2 separate regions of the Homo sapiens genome follow, and region 2 is linked to region 1. The links are contacts of gene promoters, found by promoter capture Hi-C in blood cells and fetal thymus (Javierre and others, 2016). All regions are on one chromosome and are shown on one strand. The core of a region is centred on a gene start or on the middle of the fragment in contact, and the rest is flanking DNA. Distances in the headings are between cores, read along the strand shown. Region 1 holds the start of CDH23 (cadherin related 23). Region 2 overlaps CDH23 (cadherin related 23).

What was found. The method cuts DNA at HindIII sites, captures the fragments that hold promoters and counts their contacts. A CHiCAGO score of 5 or more calls a contact.
Region 2: a contact is called between a fragment that was not itself captured here and the fragment with the promoter of CDH23 in region 1, in 2 of 17 cell types (megakaryocytes and M1 macrophages). The highest score is 6.5, in megakaryocytes.

What each region holds. Positions count from the first base shown.
Region 1 is chr10:71,395,533-71,398,565 of GRCh38, reverse strand. CDH23 (cadherin related 23) reads right to left here and starts at 1,646. Exons shown (of 70, transcript NM_022124.6): 1 at 1,248-1,646. RefSeq lists an enhancer at 843-1,354 and a silencer at 2,038-2,127. The HindIII fragment of the contact is 8,970 bases long and covers 1-2,965 here.
Region 2 is chr10:71,542,623-71,545,655 of GRCh38, reverse strand. The region is part of intron 6 of CDH23 (cadherin related 23); the gene reads right to left. Among named protein-coding and RNA genes, the nearest start is that of CDH23-AS1, 32 kb to the right of the region's middle. RefSeq lists enhancers at 1,136-1,645, 2,897-3,033. The HindIII fragment of the contact is 172 bases long and covers 1,548-1,719 here.

The DNA of each region.
Region 1 (3,033 bases), core at 397-2,896:
GCAACTGGCCCCAACTAGGTTCTTAAAGCCCGCCCCACCCCACACCCCACAACCTAATTCTTCCCTGTGTGAGGGTCTGACTCCACCCAACACACACACACACACACACACACACACACACACACACACACACACACTCCTGTGTCTCTCTAGCTTATTTCAAAATCCAAATTAGGGTTGGGGCACTTCCCAAGGGGCTGGAAGGCGAGGTCAATGTCAATGCCAGCTCTGGTCTGAGAGGGCAAAGGACGTAGAAAAAGAAGGCTCTGCTTTCTGAATTACTAGGGAGGATGGGGGAGTATTACTACCGAGGAAAGGCTAATTTCCTCCCAGTGGACCGCTGACAGCACTAGGGCTGGGGCTGGGGTCGCAGTGGGGCGGCGGCTGGCATCGGATCTCCGCTCACAGCACGGAGGCAGCCTCTCTAGGTGCCCGCTCCGAGAAAGCCAGGCAGAGTCCCCGCCGGCTGGCGCCGTCACTGCCTTGGAACACGCGGGCTCTGCTCGAGTCCTGGGCTGACCTACGGTGGAGATGAGGGGCAGTGCTCCCGGGTGCCAGCTCCTGGGGGCAGCCAGCACCGCTCGTAGCGGACCAGTTCCAGGGCCAGGAAGGCGAAGCGAGAGCCGCAAAAGGCTCCCGGCTCCTCGAGGGGCGCGTCTTCCCATAGCTGGACCGAATTTGGGAGGATGTGTAAGTCCCCTGGGGTCTCCCGCGGGCACAGGGACTTGATGAGGGGAGGGGAGAACTACGTGCCTTTAGTTCCCCTCAGCGCCTCTGCCCAGCCCGCAGTAGGGGTGCGCCCCACCCCATCCCCACTGTCCAAATGGGGACCCAGGGCTCAGAAGGGGAGGGGATTGGATCCCAACGCGCTCCACTCTCGAAAATCTCTCCACCCCAGACCTGGACCCTCTCCGTAGCGCCGAGAGCAAAGCCCCCAAATGTTCGCGGTCCCAGGACCGGGGATGGGGGATGGGATGCCTGTCCTCCCAAGGCCAACGCGAATGGAATTCGAGTTCCCAGGAATCAAAGTTGCCGCGCGTCGGGGAGCTCGGAGCGGGGCGCGAGGCTAGGGCCAGGGGCCTGGGACCGAAGGATGCCGCGAGCGCCCGCCACGGGCGATGGCCGCGCTGGGAACAAGTGGTTCGGCAGCCGCGGTCACCACCAACTTCCCCGCCGCGCGGCGGGCGAACGGCGAGGGGAAGGAGAGGGAAGCGAGGAGGGAAGAGGCGGTGCGTGGCTCCGGGTACCGTGTGCGTGTGTGCAGCGGCGCCGCGCCTCGCCTCGCCTCGGGCTCTGCTCTCCGCCGGATCGGCCCCCGCGGGCCGCCTGCTCTGGCCCTGGCCACCGCCGCGTCTTCCCGCCGGCGCGAAGGCTCATCCGCGGCGTGCCGGCAGCTCCTGGGTCTCCGCGGGCCGCTCGCCGCTCGCCGCTCGCCGCTCGCAACTTCAGGCGCGCCGGGGGCTCGGACTGGGCGCGCCCCAAACGTCCAGAGGCTCTGCCACCCCGCGCTCCATGCCCAGGCCGGGCTGACTAGCCCCGACCACCTCAGCGTCCGGCCGCCGTCGGACGCGTCCTCTAGCCAAGCATCGCGCCTGCAGCCCGCGTCCCTCTCTCCCGAGCCGCCGCCGCCGCTCAAGTCCGCGATCAACTTTCCCTTGCTTCCCCCGCCCCGCTCGGCCCCCGCCCCGCTCGGCCCCCGCCGTCCAGACCCCGCCTCCCGCAGCTCCCTCCCTCACCTCCCGCCTCGCCCGGCCCCCGCCCGCCCGCCCGCGCTCGGCGCTCCCCCACCCCTCAGGCCGCCAGGACCCCCGAGCTCCCGCCCGGCCCCGCCCGGACCCCCGGGAGCGGCGCCGAGCCCCGCCGGGCGCTCAGGGCATGAATATTTCAGTGCTGGCGAAGCTGCCCTCTGCCGATGTCATGGCACCGGCTGCTGTGGCAACTCTACGAATCCCCCAAAGGGGCAGGGAGGAAGCCCGCGGAAGAGGCCCCAGGTGCGAGACAGAGCAGTGCCCCGCCAGGCCGCCAGCCGTCCCGCAGAGGGGCGCGCAGGGGGATGGGGCCCCCAGCGTCTCGTCCGCCCCGCGCCTCAGGCAGAGCGAGGTAACGCTCCCGGGAAGCCCGGGCGGGCGAGCGGGCGCTCGGCCTAGGTGAGCCCGCGCCATCTGTTGGCTTTAAGCGCCCCCTCTCTGCTCCCAGAGTCGCTGAGCAGTCCCTCTAGTCCTTGGGGCCTCTTGGCCTACGCTTCTCTCCAACCAGCTGCCTTTGCCCACCCGACTCGTGCGCTCCCATCTGCGCCTCCTCCCTCACTAGAGCTCAAGAGGCCTCCAAGTGCTTAGAAATGGAGGACCCCGGGTTGGAGGAGACCCGTGAGGTCACTTAGGCGCCCTCACCCCTGCGGGAGCTCCGTCTGCAGTGCCCGAGTCATGGTCTCCCGGCTCCTTTTTGCACACCTATAGGGACAGAGACTTTATGGCTTTCTGAGACAGCTGGATCAAGAAAGGGTCCATATGCAGGTAATGGAAGAGGTTTATCCCCTACCTTTGATCTTTACTTCCCCGGGGCTAAGCATTCTGATTTTTTAAAACTATTTCTCACATGACAGGATTTCCGAGCTGTCACTGTTCCAGTCAGTACATTGACAGTACCTGCCTGGAGCCAGGCTCTGGGCTGAGACTTTCTGGGCCTCAACTCATTCTATCTTCAATAAAGTCTTTCTGGTGGGCCCTGCCATTATCCCAGTTTTACAGTGAGAAACAGGCTTTAGGAGGTTGGGGACTTGCCCCTGTGGTGGAGTCGGGTATTGAACCCAGAATCTATCTGGTTCCAAAGCTCCAGTTCCTTACCATTCGCTCATTCATTATTCATTCATTCATTCACAGTCACTGCTATGTGCTAGCTAACTGAAATAGTTTCTAGGAATAGGATGGAGAACAAAACAGGCTTGGTCTTTGTGCCCCATGAAGCTTCTCTAGTAGGGGAACCAGACATTCATCAATGAAACACATAAGCAGGTAAAATTACAGCCAGAATCAG
Region 2 (3,033 bases), core at 384-2,883, 150 kb before region 1:
ACTCCATCAGTTTTGTTTGGCTGCGTCCCCAGCTCTGGGAACAGTGCTTAGCACACAGTAGGCCCTGAAGAACTGTTTCTTGAATGAATAAATGAATGATAGCAAATAGGAAGATGGTATGTGGCATCTAAAGCTTATCAGACTAACTGAAAGTGCAAAAGACTCTTTGGGGGTAAGCATCGGGTCTCCTTATGGAGCAAACAGAAATCAGCCCCTGCAGGGGACACAGGGCAGGCTCATTGATGACGACAACCTGAAGACAGCCCGAGAAAGTGGAAGGTGCAAACTGTCTCACTTTTAATGAAACGCACGGTGGATGAGAACGGTCTAATGGGTTTCTCCGAAGGCCACTGACCTCTCTGGCAGGGACAGCTGCTCTGTCCTCCCCCTCCCCTGCCGTGGCCTGGGAGCACGGTGCCTGTCTCAATATCACCTCTCCTCTCTGCAGTCTTCTTTCCCTCTTGTAGCAGGAGCTAAAGAGATTAAATGATCAACCCCCAGGAAAGGCTGGGGTGAGCACTGCTGTCTCTTTCAAGCTATTGCATCTGGTGCTTCTGGCCTAATGGCTGTTTAGTGGATGCGAATCCCTCCTTCGACAGTAACTTACAGGGTGGACGTGGCTTTCCCCTCCTGCTACTGTCACCAGGGGTTGGGGTCGGGGACTGACTCTGTCCCCAGGGTTACCCCAGGGCACACACTGCACCAGTCACAGACACCAGACCCCAGCCACAGACCACCTCCAACCTCTAAATCTAGCCATAAAATGACTCTCTAACTGTCAAGAAATTGGAACATCATTCGATGGGCTCCTGACTGGCGGAGAAGTCAACTGAAAATGATCCGACTCCCTTTGAAGGTGGGGAGAGTTAGAAAACGGAGCACTATCTTCTTCCCCCAGATAGCTGTGGCCAAAGTTCTTTGCCTCGTGGGTCTTGTCTGTGGCATTGGTGGCTTCTACTTCATGCCTGATTGTGGGAGGGGTATTTGGGGTGTGCAGCGTGTCCCAGGGCAACGTGCCTGTGGCCCCGGGCCTGGTGTAGGTATGCTCCTCCTCTTTTCCATCCCGGTCACTAACCGGTTAACCCTCTGCCAGCATTCCCACTCCTGTGGCTGGAACACAAGGCAGAGGGTGGGAGCGGGCGTGGGGCAGGCTCTGCTGGCAGGGCTCTGATTGCCTTGCCTGCCACTGTCCAGCCCCCAGCCTACTCCCATCGCCAGCTTCGTCCACTCTGCCCTCCCCCTGGTGAGGCTGGGGGTGATTGGAACCCCTTCTGCTAGAGCTGATTAGGCCTGATTTCACCAGCCTGCTTCCACCTCTGGAAACTTCCCCTGTTATTAGAGTTGTTTTCCGCCCACTCTCTCGGTCCACTGGATGAGGAGAGTTTATTTGATTTGATTTCTACCCCCATCTCCCTTTTTTCCGCTACTCCCGTCCACCTCTCCTGCATCTGTGGCAGCCAAGCAGACCAGAGTTCGGTAAAAACCAGGAAAATTAGCTTCTAACCTCAGGAAAGAGCTATAATAAAGCCAGGTGAATAATAAAAGCTTTATCTAACATAACTCTGATTAAAAGCTCAGGCCTGCCTCCTTATCCTATCCTGCCCCACGAGGACGAGGCTGGCCCTTTAAAGCAGCTGATGGTTGAAGGGATGGAAAATACAGCCTGCTCTTGCTTCCAATTTGCTTTTTTCCATCTTTTTTTTTTCTCCTTCTCAAGCTTTGTTTTACAAATTGGGGCACTCTCTAAGAGGCCCAAGGATCCGTCTGCTGCACTTCATTCTGCTCTACAGTACTTAGCAGCTTTGGGAGAACCAAGTCACTGTGAAGCAACAGGTCCCAGCAGCCCTGGGATCCTCCACATCCCCACATGGGGTGGGGTGGCTGGTAAGAGGGTGCTGGGAGGTTCAGCTCCACCCTGGCCCCTGAACTCTATAGAGCCTGAAGGTAATCACAGTGCCCATCTGGGCCTCAGTTTCCCATCTGTCAAATGGAAAGAACCTTTTCCCTTGCTAGAGTGGCTAGGAGAAGCATGAGGACTTGTAAAATTCAGATTGCTGATGGAAAAAAAATGGTTGACTTCCTCCCTCTTAGCTTGCACTGTTATAACCAGAATCATCTATGCGGAACTGGGTGAACAGGAAATCACTTGGCATGTATTCACCCGGCATGGACAGCATCGGCTGCATATGGACCCTAATAAACATGCTGTGGGCCAGACCCTGGAGAGGTCATTACCATCAGACATCTGATCTGTGGGTGCTTTGACAGTGAGGGTAAGGAGAGAGGGGAGCTGTCCCCATCCTCAGGTCTACTACAGCAAGGTTTCTTCCAGTGCTCTCTGGATAATGGAGGTCCTCGGGGACAACAGGCCTGAGGATGAGGGTGACAAGTTCTGGACCATACTGGGCTGCAGAAGTGAAAGCCCTGCTCCAGAAATCAGACACTTGGGTCCCCACCCAACTCCCTGTACTCCTGGGTGGGGCCGGGTGCTCAGCTCTCCGGGCCTTGGTGTCCACACCTGCTGAATGGGGCCCTGGAGGAACAGCGTCTCATAAGTCTGTGCATTCGGGCTGTTCTGAGAAGTTCTGGACTTGCTAGCCTTGCATTACAATGACCTTAGAGCACTGCAACGCTGGCCTCTGGACAGGCCTAATTCCACAAGGCAAGGGCACTCCCATCCAATTCCCCTTTTTGGTGGTTGTCCCCCACTTCAAAACCAGGGGCCCACTAAAGCCCCTAGGCTCACAGAAGCCCCCTGCACGCTGCCACCCTGGAAAGGGGCTTGCTGTTCAGAGCCTCGAAGAACCCGCTCAGCCTGTGCCTCCCCCAGGGGAAGGGGTGGGGAGAGCTGAAGTGTGGCAGCCTGGAGCCTGGCCCTGCTGGCTGGGCGGGTCAGTTTCATTCACCATTCCCAGCCTTCTCTCCCTCAGGGCACCAGGCTGTGGAGGCAGGAGTCTGGTGCTTTTCAATTTCACGCCAGGTATCAGCAGCCAGGTCTTGGCTGGCCTTATCTTCTCGGCCTCCTGCCTAGGT